Linked DNA regions of Homo sapiens: regions 1, 3, 4 and 5 are each linked to region 2. Evidence: promoter capture Hi-C in human tissues and cell types (Jung and others, 2019). All regions are on one chromosome and are shown on one strand. Each heading gives the region's core, a stretch centred on a gene start or on the middle of the fragment in contact. The rest is flanking DNA. Distances are from core to core; before and after follow the strand shown. Region 1 overlaps LAMA3 (laminin subunit alpha 3). Region 2 holds the start of ANKRD29 (ankyrin repeat domain 29). Region 3 overlaps LAMA3 (laminin subunit alpha 3). Region 4 overlaps LAMA3 (laminin subunit alpha 3). Region 5 overlaps NPC1 (NPC intracellular cholesterol transporter 1).

Region 1 (2,700 bases), core at 22-2,521, 88 kb after region 2:
ATATCCAATTTTTCATAATTGCGAAACTTGCACTTTCAAGGACATCTAACATAGATCAAGATGGAAACAGGGCTTGGGACTGAACAGTAAAGGAATCACATTGAGGGCTCCCAGAATGAGCCAGGTTGGAAATTCTGTTGGGGGATTTCAGTTATCCCCAGAAAGTCAGGATTCTTGATCCAAAGCCCGCAGGTCTTGAACTGTCCTTTCTGGTGATGTATTTATAAAGTGGGTTGCTGGTAACTGAAATGATGACCCCTTACCTCTTCACCTATGATCCCATGATACCCCGTAAGAGTGAGGAGAGGAAGGACAGGTGGCAGCAGGTAGATTTTCTCTATACTGTCTCTTCCCTCATCTGATGACCAGATGTAGGGGATCCAGAGGAGGACTCTGAGGTCCTACAGAACGGCTGCACCTCTAGATAGAAAGAGCCTGCTTCCCTGAATGACTGCATGGAGCCGATCCTACGTGATCCCTGATCCCTTTTGGTAGAATGGGTGTAATCTGTTGGAGAGAAAAAATTGCTGTCCCTGTGGGGTTGCATTTGGCCCTTGTAAAGTCAGGTTGGCTATTGTTAAGGGAGATGGGCAAACAAAGGTGAAACAATCAGAGAAGATTTCCATGGAAATTGTGAGGCCATAATGAATATGAACTGAGTTTCAAATAAACTTCCTTCAAAGGTGTCAGCCTCCCTCTCTTTAAGTAGAGAGATCTTACTTGAGCATGTGTATGCGGTATCTTCTGACAGCTCATGAGTGGTTCATATTTCCAATGGTTGACACTTGGGCTTCATCACTTTGGGCTTTAAAACAAAATGGAGGGTTTACACAGTTTTTTTTTTTTTTTTTTTTTTTTTTTTTTTTTTTGCCCCATTACTGTCAAACTTTATATCTAGAGATTTCCTTTTTTCAACCTCATGTAGATTTTTGGGTTACTTTAGCTTTGTTTCTTTGATGCAGCTTAAGAAAGTTGTGTCCTTATATTTACAGGTTTTAACATTATGTTTTCAACATTTCATAGTGTTACAGTCCCACAACTACCCTGATAGAACAAAGGCTTTGAAAACGTAATGATAACATCTCCCGAGAGCCCAGATTTCAAAGACGTATTGCCAGACCTTGGAACCAGGAAGTGTGAGGGAAGATGGGACTAGCAATGATGTTTTTAGACATAAACAAGACCCAAGACCCCCTACGAATATCAAATGGCTCAAAGAAACCAAGTGCCTTGGGGCATGTGAGTTATTTTTACTTACTTGCTGCTAAATTTTGATAAAAGGAACTTTTTCCCCCTTTATGTGTGTGTGGTCATTTTAGGTTGTGGTGTCCTTGATAAACGGTCGTCCAGGTGCAAAAAATTTTACTTTCTCTCACACCCTGAGGGAGTTTACCAAGGCAACAAACATCCGCTTGCGTTTTCTTAGAACCAATACGCTTCTTGGACACCTCATCTCCAAAGCCCAGCGAGATCCAACTGTCACTCGGCGGGTGAGTAGTCAGAGCATTTGTTTTGTTACTTTATTTATTCATTTTTTTGGCTTACCAAATTAATTGCCTTGAACTCTTTTAAGTAACCTTTATAGCCTGTAATGATGTAGGTGTGGGAGTTGTTCTTATCTGAAATACTAGATATAATTAGGAGTTTATATCTAATGACTTATAAAAATGGCTGTTTGAAGAAAAATCATTATATTCAAAGAAGATGAAAGGCAAATGATTATAGTCAGCCTGGTACTAGTCTGGATGGGATAATTAATACTACAGCCAACAATTCCCAAATCTCAGTGGCTTAACAAAATAAAGCTTTGTTTCTTGCTCCTATTACAGTTTAACATGGGTCAGCAGGTAGGATCGGCTCCACACAGTAATTCAGGGAAGCAGGTTCTTTCTATCCAGAGGTGCAGCCATTTTGTAGGACCTCAGAGTCCTCCTCTGGATCCCCTACCTCTTGGTCCTCAGATGAGGGAAGAGAGAGTATAGAGAAAAATCTACCTGCTTCTCATCAGAGGTTACTTCTATGGGCAAGAACTGGTCATATCATAGCCTCACTTAGATGCAAGGAGGCTGGGTGATGTCATCTAGCTGAAATGGAGGCACATAGGTATTGGTGAGCACTAGTACCCTCTCCTGTGTTGGAGGTACACCATGAACATCTCTCACTCTCAGGTGTCAGGGCAGTACACTTGTCTCCTGGGCACAGAGGGAGCCCACAGAATAAACACATTGAGCTCACTCTTCTTCCACCCTCTGATCTACTGGTGCCTTCCATTGGCCAAAGCAAACAAGAAGCCAGAGAGAAAGACAGTCCATTGGTTGCAACCATAAAGTTCAGCTCCTGGGCACAGGACAGGGTGGAGAACGTGGAGAGCAGATCTGGAGGGTGAATGGAAGATGCCCAGTGCACCTTATAGAGTTTGGCTTTTTATATAGGTAACATCAGAGAGCTGGGAAAGGAAGGGAGGGAAAAGTATAAGTATTGCCACAGTTTTGAGCATTTTCCAGAAAGGCAGGCACCTTGGGTGTAGGTGGCCTATCTTTTGTATTTTTTTGCTCTCCTCAGCTCCCTCTGAGCTTCTGTGTAGTTGGGGACTGTGTTGAATCTGAGGATGGATATTTACAAGGGAGGGCTGGACTTTCTCATAAACTATAGCCGGGCTGTGTTTCTGTTCCTCCATGTGCCCTGGAGCACTGCCACAAA
Region 2 (2,700 bases), core at 94-2,593:
CATGGTGGCGCACGCCTGTAATCCCAGCTACTCTGGAGGGTAAGGAAGGAGAAATAGCTTGAACCCGGGAGGCGGAAGTTGCAGTGAGCTGAGATCACACCATTGCACTCCAGCCTGGGCAACAAGAGCAAAACTCCGTCTCAGGAAAAAAAACTTTAAAGTCATTCACATTCGTCTGCTTCGTTCCATTCTCACCACCTATGCACTGGTCCAGTACCATTTCTTAAAAAGATGACAACATCTTCCAGCTCCAACCCTCTTCTCCAAACCTAGCCAGAGATCTTTGCAACATGCACATCTCGCCATGTCACTCCTCTGCTTACATGAGCTATTGTCGGCAACGGGATTACAGTGGCTTAGGAGTCAGACACACTTGGGTTTCAGTCTTAACACCATAACTTATTGGCTGCAAAACCGTGGGTGAGTTAATTTCTCTATATCTTAGTTTTCTCATTTGAAAAAAAAAAAAAAAAGAGCCACGAAGAGCACCTCCCACAGGTCTCCCCCAGGGTTGAGACCATACACACCATGTCCTTGGTTCAGAGTCAGGCACATTTGAACTGTTTAATACATTTTAACTGCTATTTTTATTAAACCCTTTCAATCGAGGCAAATCAACCTCTTTCATCCTAAAATGTGGGGATTAGATGGAATGACTTTAATCAACTCTTTTGAGACAAGACACCTTTGGACCCTGAAGCCTCCCTGGGTGCTGGCCACCCCTCCGGGGAGGAGGCATCCGTGGGTGCAGCTGGTACTCCTGCATGAGGACCCAGAGGGTCAGGGTCGGGGACTCCTTCTGCTGCAGGACAGCGCTGACCCCAGGCTTCTTACCCGCCCCCGACCTGTTACCCGGCGACAGTCCCCGCCGCCCCGTCGCCGGGCACAGACTCAGCCGATCCACAGCCATGAGTGCGAAGCCTCTCAGGCAGGGCAGGCAGGCAAACCGCAAACCCACAGGGCGCACCCAGCCCCGCCGCTTCCTCCCGGGCCTCGCCCGCAGCTGGAGGAGAGAGGAAGGAGGAGGCGGCGGGCAGCGGGCAGCGCCCACCCCATCCCACCCCATCCCACCCCACCCGACCCCGCGGGCCCGGCCGCCCGAGCCCGGCCCCAGCCCTGACCCCGGAGTCCCGGTCGCTCACCTTGAAGGACATCCTGCACATGTCCGCGGCCGCCCGAGCGGGAGCCGGCGCGCTTTGGGCCCGGGGCGCCTTGTCCTCCCCGGCCCTTCACTCTCCCGGGGCTCTCGGCGTTCCGCAGAGGGGCGGCCTCCGACGCCGCGCGCTCCCGCCGCCCGGCCCGGCAGCAGCCGCCGCACACAGGGCCGGGCCGAAGGGGCGGCGCGGGGGCGCGCGCGCGCGCACACTACACATGGGGTGTCGCGTGGACGCGCTCCAGGACCTGCCACACACGCGCGTGCACAAACACCCCAAACTCCGCACGCACTGTGCACTTTCCACACACGTCCACACTTCCACACTCACTCGTCCACACACACACTCCAAACTCCACACACATTGTGCATACGCTCCACATTCCACACACACAGAGGTTCCACACACATACTTTCCACACTCACGCCCACTCACCCGCATGTACTCACACACAAACTCCATACATATCCTCCCAAATAGACTGGTCTGCCCCAGAGGACTCCCAACCTTCATTACAGCACAAATATTATAATGATGTAAAAATGAAGCTTGAGGAAAAAATTCATCCAATAGCTATTTTCGTTATAATTTCTTTCTCGGTTTCCTGGGAAACTTTTTTCTCCTGGGGAAAATATCTAGGAAACAAACCTTTTGATTGCACAAACAATAAGTGGTCTTTTCCTCTTTGAAGGGCAAAGGCCAATTTTGGAATAGACTCATACCCCTCCTCCTCCTCCGCGTTATTAATCCAGCAGTTCCCTCCTCCTCTGGGTCTGATGCTGCAGCCCTGGAGTATTGCAGTATGTGTGTCCACTCCTGCTGCCTGCCCAGGATTGGTTTGGGCGAAGTAAAACTGGGAGTTTTAAGTATAAACGGCAACAACAGCTCTTTGAGAGCATTTTAGAAAAGTGAAAGTAAAAAAGTAGCCCAGGCATAGTGGCTCACGCCTATAATCCCAACTCTTTGGGAGGCCAAAGGCGGGCAGATCACTTGAGTCCAGGAGTTCGAGATCAGACTGGCCAACATGGCAAAACTCTATCTCTACTAAAAATACAAAAATTAGCCAGGCGTGGTGGTGCGCACCTGTAGTCCCAGCTACTCGGGAGGCTGAGGTGGGAGGATCGCTTGAACCTGGGAGGTTGAGGCTGCAGTGAGCCAAGATTCGGTCACTGCACTCCAGCCTGGGCAACAGAGCAAGACTCTGCCTCAAAAATAAAAATAAAAACAAAACAAAAAAATAGTATAAAAATGGAGGTCTTACCCCCTCAAACTATAAGAATCCACTCATTCATTCTCCCCCTCCTTCCCTCTTCTCAATTAAATTTGTAACGAATATTTAATTTAAAAGGTAGAAAACAATTACAAATAAAAGTTAATGATAAAAATTAAAATGTTTAACCTTCATGGATAAATTGTATTACTTTGTGCTTAAAACAACTTTAAATTAAAAACATTCTGAACTTTTATAGAAAATTCCAATTTTAAAAATAAGGACTCTAAACATTTTCCTTGCCTTGAGTGCCTATAAATGACACAGTTTTTAAGT
Region 3 (2,806 bases), core at 197-2,696, 66 kb after region 2:
TCCAACTTCTGACCTCAGGTGATCTGCCTGCCTCGGCCTCCCAAGGTGCTGGATTATGGGCATGAGCCACCTCCCCTGGCCCCTTGTTTTATTGTGAATGAGTAACAAACAGTTCCTGGACCAGCACTGGTCCATGGACCACACTTTGAGTAGTGCTGCTCTAGGCCATGTATTGTAACTTTTCTTTTCTTTCTGTTTTATTTTGAGATAGGACCTTGCTCTGTCGCCCAGGCTGGAATGTAGTGGCGTGATCATAGCTCACTGGAGCTTCGAACTCCAGAGCTCAAGTGATCCTCCTGCTTCAACCACCCCAGTAGCTAGGAGCACAGGCACGTGCCACCACACCCCACTATTGATTTTATTTTATTTTTGTAGAGATAGGGTCTCACTATGTTGTTCAGGCTGGTCTTGGACTCCTGGCTTCAAGTGATCCTCCTGCCTCGGCCTCCCAAAGTGCTGGCACTACAGCTGTGAGCCACTGGTGCCTGGCCTACTGAACCTTTTCTTCAGAGCTTCAGAGCTATTCAGATACATCCTGAAAAGGCCTCCTCTTCTCTGCTACCTCAAGTCTCTCCTCTGGCTCAGATTTGGTGATGTAGTTCAAGATACATTTGTTCATTATTTGAAACTTTAAACAGCCCAAGCCCTCTTGTGACCCAGATAGTCTCCCTCCTATCTGTCCACTTACGCCTGTTCTGTGCCCAGTGACCCAGGCTGGTGACCTTCCTGGACAGCAGCAACAGGCTGGGGGGAGGTATCCCAGGTGCTCAGGGGGTAGGAGGGCAAGGACAATGGGGCATTTGGTCCCCCAGCTGCCTCTGTTGGCCCATAGGCTGCAGTATCCCAGCTGTTTCATCCTAAGGAGGATCTTGGCTCCTGGCAGGCAACTCACTGTAAGGCTCCAGCTCTGTCTGGGATCCAGCATCTGTTCCCTCTCCTTCCCCTTCAGCCCAGGGTAGGAGAGGTCCTCAGATCTTCTTAGCTCTGAGATGCTTCCCCATTACCAGAAGGCTTCCCTCCTGCTGCCACTGCCTTTGTCAATGCTGTAGGTGCTTTATTAAGCTCTCCTCAATCACTTCCTTCTAGTAGGAAGGAAGTGTCTATCCCTGGGACTATGAGTGACACGCAGCCTTCTGACTTGCTTTTCTACTGGCTGAAATTTGCCAAAGCTCTCCAGTTGTCATCTTTTAAAGAATGAAGGGAAACGGCTGGTGCAGTGGCTCACTCCTGTAATCCCAGCACTTTGGGAGGCCGAGGCAGGCGGGTCACCTGAAGTCAGGAGTTCGAGACCAGCCTGGCCAACATGGTGAAACTCTGTCTCTACTAAAAATACAAAAATTAGCTAGGTGTGGTGGTGCGCACCTATAGTCTCAGCTACTCAGAAGGCTGAGACGGGGTAATCGCTTGAACCCGGGAGGCAGAGGTTGCAGTGAGCGGAGATCGTACCGCTGTACTCCAGCCTGGGCAACAGAGCAAGACTCCGTCTCAAAAAAAAAAAAAAAAAAAAGAATGAAGGAAAGTATTGAGGGGTGACCATACTGAAGTTTTTAAAAAGTGCATATGATGTATTGTGTGTGTATGTGTGTGTGTGTGTGTGTGTGTGTGTGTGTTTGTGTGTGTAGAGAGAGAGAGAGACAGAGAGATCTCAACTGAATTATGACTGGAGTACAGAATAATATTCTGTCCCTTTCTGTATCCCCACCACCTAGGAGAATGTCTGGTATGTAGAAATAATCCAGCAAATGTATACTTCGTGTATGAATGAATGAAGATACAGAGACTTCCTTACTTATGTCTGCCCTATTCTCATATGTCCCTCATATACATACCAAAGCCATACATATGCAACAGATAGTAAAAATATTTGTCTTTTATAACTTGGAACACACTGAAGACATAATGAAAAGGTTGGATCTTTGGTCATTTAGAGTATTAATTGTATTAATTTAAATATTTCAAAAATAGATGGTAGGGAGAAAGTATGTTGCTCTTTTGTGGTAGATAATCTTGTAAGTCTTCGAAAACTCTTCAACATCTGCTTCAAAAGGTAATCATTTAGAATTTAAAAATGATTATATATATATATGGCAGATATAACATAAATTTACTGTTAACATAATTCACATGCTAGAAATTGACCTAAGCACTTTACCATTATTAACTCATTTAATCCTCACTGCAAGCTTATGAGGTGGGTCCCCACGTTCTAGAAGGGGAAATGGGAAGCCCAGAGATGTTTCATAGCCTCACAGGGTTGTATGGGATAGACCCGGGATTTGCTCCCCCAAGTCTGGCACCAGAGCCAGCCTTAGGCGCTGTGTGATGGCAATGTACGTGACGCTCCCGTCCTGTCTGTGCTGGGCTTAGCTGGAATGCTCATGGCCCGTGTGGGTGTTTGGTCATAATTGCTGTCCCTCTCGCAGGATGCTGTCATGATGTTGTTCATCACTGCCCACTGTGTTCCCCTGCAAAGATCCATTTGGACAATCCCTTTAGTCCCGGAATAGTTGTGCTTCTTTAGGACATTAAAAAACGAAATAAAACAAAAATGTATGGACCCTGGGATTAAGTTTCCCTCTTTTTGCTGGCTACTAGAAGCATAGGGGCAAATGTATGGCTCCACCATGCAGGTGGACACAGCTTCATGGCCTGCATTATTTTGTGTGCAAACCTCATTACAGGTTCCAACATTTCATCCCTATCTGTAATTTTGCTTTTACTCCTTTTTTTTGTTTTTGATTTTTGGTGATTTCACATTGCCATTTTCTTTCCATCCTTATACACTGCCCTCAATCTCCTCCCCAGT
Region 4 (2,700 bases), core at 181-2,680, 110 kb after region 2:
TCTACACTCCAGCTTGGGTGACAGAAAAAGACTGTCTCAAAGAAAAAAAAAATTCTTGGAAGTCCTAGCCAGAGCAATCAGTCAAGAGAAAGATATAGAAGACATTCAAATAGCAAAAGAAAAAGTCAAACTATCTCTCTTTGTTAATGATATGATTCTATACTTAGAAAACCTAAGGACTCTTCCAGAAGGCTTCTGGAACTGATAAACAACTTCAGTAAAGTTTCAGGATACAAAGATCAGTAGCATTTCTATGCACCAATAATGTTCAAGCTGAGAGCCAAATCAAGAACACAATCCCATTTACAGTAACTGCAAAAAACAAACAATAAAAAAAGCCCAAATCTAGGAATACATCTAACCAAGGAGGTGAAAGATCTCTACAAGGACAACTACAAAATACTGACTGAAAGAAATAATAGATGACAAAAACAAATGAAAAGACATTCCATGCTCATGGATTGGAAGAATTAGTAACATTACAGTGGCCATACTGCCCAAAGCAATCTACAGATTCAACGCTATTTCTATCTATGTCATTTTTGACAAAACTATAAAAAACTATTCTAAAATTCAGAAGAAACCAAAAAAAGAGCCCAAATAGCCAAAGCAGCCCTAGGCAAAAAGAACAAAGCCAGAGGCATAACATTACCTGACTTCAAACTATACAGAATACAGAACTCAAAAATAAAGCCACACACCTACAGCCATCTGATCTTCAACAAAGTTAACAAAAATAAGCAATGAGGAAAGGACTTTTTTTCTTTTTTCTTTCTTTTCTTTTTTTTTTTTTTTTTTAGACAGAGTCTTGCTCTGTCACCCAGGCTGGAGTGCAGTGGCACGATCTGGGCTTATTGCACTGCCTCCCGGGTTCCAGTAATTCTCCTGCCTCAGCCTCCCAAGTAGCTGGGACTACAGGTGTGTGCCATCATGCCTGGCTAATTTTTCATTATTAGTAGAAACAGAGTTTCACCATGTTGGCCAGGCTGGTCTCAAACTCCTGACCTCAGGTGACCCACCCGCTTCAGCCTCCCGAAGTGCTGGGATTACAGGTGTCAGCCACCGTGCCTGGCAAGGAAAGGTCTTTCTATTCAATAAATGGTGCTAAGATAGTTGTCTCTCCATGTGCAGAAAAATGAAACTGGACCCCTACCTTTCACCATATATTATACAATAATTAACTCAAGACGGACTAAAGATTTAAATGTAAGACCTCAAACTATAAGAATCCTAGAAGAAAACCTAGGAAACACCATTCTGGACATTGGCCTTCGGAAATAATTTATGGCTAAGTTCTCAAAAGCAATTTCAACAAAACAAAAAATTGACAAATGGGACCTAATTAAACTAAAGAGCTTCTATACTACAAAAAAAAAAAAAACTATCAGCAGAGTAAACAGACAGCCTACAGAGTGGGAGAAAATATTTGCAAACTGTGCACCTAACAAAGGTCTAATATTCGGAATATATGAGGAACTTAAATAGTTCAGCAAGCAAAAAACAAATAACTCCATTAAAAAATGGGCAAAAGACATGAACAGACACTTTGCAGAAGAAGACATACAAGTGGCCAACAAACGTATGAAAAAATGCTCCATATCACTAATCATCATAGAAATGCATGTCAAAACCACAATGAGATATCATCTCACACCAGCTAGAATGGCTATTATTAAAAAGTCAAAAAACAACAAATGCTGCTCAGGTTGCAGAGAAAAGAGAACACTTACTTATACATTGCTGGTGGGGATGTAAATTATTTTAGCCACTATGGAAAGCAGTTTGGAGATTTCTCAAAGAAAACAAAACTACCATTCAACCCAGTAATCCTATTAATTGGCATATATCCAAAAGAAATAAATTATTTCATCAAAAGGTCACATGCACTCATATGTTCATTGGAGCATTATTTACAATAACAAAGACATGGAATCAACCTTGGTGCCTATCAGTGGTGGATTGGATAAAGAAAATGTGGTATATATACATGATGGAATATTACACAGACATAAAAAAGAATGAAATCATACCCTTTGCAGCAGCATGGATGCAGCTGGAGGTCATTATCCTAAGCAAATTAATGCAAAACCGGAAAACCAAACGCCACACGTTCTCACTTTCAAGTGGGAGTTAAACATTGGGTACTCATGGACATAAAGGTGGAAACAATAGACACTGGGGACTACTAGAGGGGAGAGCGAAGAAGGGCGACAAGGGTCGAAAAACTAACTATTGGGTACTATGCTCAGTACCTGGGTGGCAGGATCAATCATACACCAAAGCTGAGCGCCATGCAATATATCCAGCTAACAAATCTGTACATGTACCCCCTGAATCTAAAATTAGAGTTGAATTTTTTTTTTGGAAAAAGAATTTTAGGAAACTACCTACCTTCCCAACCCCTCTTTATTTCCAAATCTCTGCCCTTTTATGGTAATACAATGATCTGTAATTATTTTCCTTTACTCAATCCCATTTGTAAATGTTTTAGAGGAGAGAATAAATAATGGAAAAGGAAAATAAAAGAATATTTTGTAAATAATACTTCAATATAGCTGGAAAAAATTAGAGTATGTAGGGCCGCTTACAACAAAATTTATGACATTGTCTCATGGTATTTATAAAATGCATGTAAATATAATACATATGCAACAATAGCATAAAAAATAATACAATATTAACTCTAATTTGACTGTGAGA
Region 5 (2,708 bases), core at 206-2,705, 100 kb before region 2:
GTGTGAACAGCCGCCTCAAGCAGCCCTCAAATGCTGCGCTGACAGGGTCACAGCAGGACGCCTCTCCTGGAAGAACGGGAGAGGAAGGGAAGGTGGAGGTTAAGAGCCAAGCCGTTCCTGAAAGTCGGAACAGGGAAAGCATTAGTTGCTATCTCATGGCAGGAATCAAGCCCACCTGGGGACACATATGAGACCCCTGCCCTCAGCTACCTATCTGCTCAGCAAAGCCACCTTTGTTGGCTGCCCTCAATGAGCGCTATTCCCACCCCACAGAGGAGATGCCGACACAGGAGCCTCTGAAGGGTGAGGTTCAACCCTGCCCTGCTATTCCCACTCTTGTCCTGCTGCTTTCGCGCCTCCCCAGCTATGATTAATTACTTGGTTCTGCTGTGCCACCCTGACTAGATGGTAGGGCCACAAAGGCAAGGACCATGTCTGCCTTGGTCGCAGCCGTGTCCTCGGCACTGGCACACCACCTCACCCACTGCTGCAACCCCACTGAGGAAACGAATGCTCTCATGACAGACAGCATCATCTGAACCCTTTTATTCATGGACAAATATGCCTACCTTTGTCACTTGCATTAACAGAAAAAGCTATATTGCTATCGATGGGAGTGTACTCGGAGACAAAATACCGTTTTCTGAAAAACAGAAGTGAAGAAATAGCATTAGTGGACTTCATCACAGTGAGGTTGTTTTTGGGACATTCCTGTAATCCCATGAAATGCTTTCTTCCTCCTCCTGGCCTCCTCCTCCCTAATTACTGCCTTCTTTCCCCTAAGTCCCCTTGCTCTGGGTCCCTCTGCTCACCAGTCTCAGGAGAAAATTTAAGAAGATGTTAAGAGAACAATTAATAAAGGATAATTTCACCTTGTGGCCCTCATTTTATTTAAAACTTTTAGGTCCTTTAAAAACACACTACTGGGCTAGGCGCGGTGGCTCACGCCTGTAAACCCAGCACTTTGGGAGGCCAAGGTGGGCGGGATCACGAGGTCAAGAGATCGAGACCAACCTGGCCAACATGGTGAAACCCTGTCTCTACTAAAAATACAAAAAGGTTAGCTGGGTGTGGTGGCACGTGCCTTGGGAGGCTGAGGCAGGAGAACTGCTTGAACCAGGGAGGCGGTGGTTGCAGTGAGCTGAGATCGCGCCACTGCATTCCAGCCTGGTGACAGAGCAAGACTCCATCTCAAAAAAACAAACAAACAAACAAAAACATGCTACTCTTTCCAGCAGCAATGAGCATACCTAGTGCCCAGATCTTCGTTTCTACATACCATTCTCCAATAAAAGGAACCAGAGCTCCTTGCAGGGCAGGGACAGGGAATATGTAAGATAAAGCTGGGGATGGGAGGTGTATGTAAGAACACAGAAGCCAGCCAGAAGGCACTCCCAATGGCCCAAAGTGGAAAACTTTGAGTAACAAGATAAATGACAGTGTTGGATACAACCCACAGAATTAAAAGTCCATGATGTAAATAACTGAGTAAATAAATGAGGGAGAAGGGATAGCTTTCTGTACAGAAGTCCAGTTAGTAAATGCAGAGGAAGAGAGGGAAAGAGAAAAAAATCACTATCAGGCAAACACCTTAGTTATAACTGTTGCAGACAAGACCCAACAATGAATGCTAAAATCAGTGGTTGAGTTTCAGGAGGAACAAAATATTAGTATAGTCTCAAAGCATCTTCCCCCAAGATATTTATCAATTACGAAGGGAAAAGCAGTAACTTCACAGTGGAGATAGCCAGCAGACATCACCTTGAGCAAGTGATCAAGGTTAACATCACCAGGAAAGAGACGCATCAACATCAGGGATCCCTGACATGATGCACCGAGAAAGACATAACATGACTTCTGTGATGTACTTGTCAAAACACCTTATTTCAATCTCATCATGAGAAAATACCAGATAAAGCCAAATGGAAGGACATGCTACAAAATACCTGACCAGTATCATCAAGAGTGTTAAGGCCAGAAAAGGAAAGACTGAGGAACTTTCTGTCACAGATTAGAGGGGACTCATAAAACACAAAAATGTAATATGGGACCTTGAAACAGGGAAGGGCATTAGAGAAAAAGCTGGTGAAATCTGATTAAGATCTCTGGTTTAGCTAATAATAATGTAATAATAATGGCATGGTCGTGGTTTTGATCATTGTACTATGAGTTTTTTTTTTAATTATTATTATACTTTAAGTTTTAGGGTGCATGTGCACAACGTGCAGGTTTGTTACGTATGTGTACGTGTGCCATGTTGATGTGTTGTACCCATTAACTCGTCATTTAGCATTAGGTATATCTCCTAATGCTATCCCTCCCCCAGGCCCCCACCCCACAACAGTCCCCGGTGTGTGACGTTCCCCTTCCTGTGTCCATGTGTTCTCATTGTTCAATTCCCACCTATGAGTGAGAACATGCGGTGTTTGGTTTTTTGTCCTTGCGATATTTTGCTGAGAATGATGGTTTCCAGTTTCATCCAAGTCCCTACAAAGGACATGAACTCATCATTTTTTATGGCTGCAGAGTATTCCATGGTGTGTATGTGCCACATTTTCTTAATCCAGTCTATCGTTGTTGGACATTTAGGTTGGTTCCAAGTCTTTGCTATTGTGAATAGTGCCGCTATAAACATACGTGTGCATGTGTCTTTATAGCAGCATGATTTATAATCCTTTGGGTATATACCCAGTAATGGGATGGCTGGG

What was found. The method cuts DNA at HindIII sites, captures the fragments that hold promoters and counts their contacts. A contact is called where the count stands out against the background at its distance.
Region 1: a fragment that was not itself captured here is called in contact with the fragment with the promoter of ANKRD29 in region 2 in 3 of the 25 tissues and cell types used here (H1 embryonic stem cells, IMR-90 fibroblasts and lymphoblastoid cells).
Region 3: a fragment that was not itself captured here is called in contact with the fragment with the promoter of ANKRD29 in region 2 in 2 of the 25 tissues and cell types used here (lymphoblastoid cells and thymus).
Region 4: a fragment that was not itself captured here is called in contact with the fragment with the promoter of ANKRD29 in region 2 in 2 of the 25 tissues and cell types used here (dorsolateral prefrontal cortex and spleen).
Region 5: a fragment that was not itself captured here is called in contact with the fragment with the promoter of ANKRD29 in region 2 in 3 of the 25 tissues and cell types used here (IMR-90 fibroblasts, aorta and pancreas).

The regions. Positions count from the first base shown.
Region 1 is chr18:23,749,599-23,752,298 of GRCh38, forward strand. It overlaps LAMA3 (laminin subunit alpha 3), which reads left to right. Exons shown (of 75, transcript NM_198129.4): 5 at 1,320-1,490. Among named protein-coding and RNA genes, the nearest start is that of LAMA3, 61 kb to the left of the region's middle. The HindIII fragment of the contact is 7,397 bases long and covers 1-2,700 here.
Region 2 is chr18:23,661,568-23,664,267 of GRCh38, forward strand. It overlaps ANKRD29 (ankyrin repeat domain 29), which reads right to left and starts at 1,344. Exons shown (of 10, transcript NM_173505.4): 1 at 1,143-1,344. The coding sequence starts at 1,163. The HindIII fragment of the contact is 14,259 bases long and covers 1-2,700 here.
Region 3 is chr18:23,727,544-23,730,349 of GRCh38, forward strand. The region is part of intron 2 of LAMA3 (laminin subunit alpha 3); the gene reads left to right. Among named protein-coding and RNA genes, the nearest start is that of LAMA3, 39 kb to the left of the region's middle. The HindIII fragment of the contact is 3,457 bases long and covers 1-2,806 here.
Region 4 is chr18:23,766,799-23,769,498 of GRCh38, forward strand. The region is part of intron 8 of LAMA3 (laminin subunit alpha 3); the gene reads left to right. Among named protein-coding and RNA genes, the nearest start is that of LAMA3, 79 kb to the left of the region's middle. The HindIII fragment of the contact is 6,883 bases long and covers 1-2,700 here.
Region 5 is chr18:23,556,548-23,559,255 of GRCh38, forward strand. NPC1 (NPC intracellular cholesterol transporter 1) reads right to left here. Exons shown (of 25, transcript NM_000271.5): 7 at 570-643; 8 at 1-66. Among named protein-coding and RNA genes, the nearest start is that of NPC1, 29 kb to the right of the region's middle. The HindIII fragment of the contact is 8,970 bases long and covers 1-2,708 here.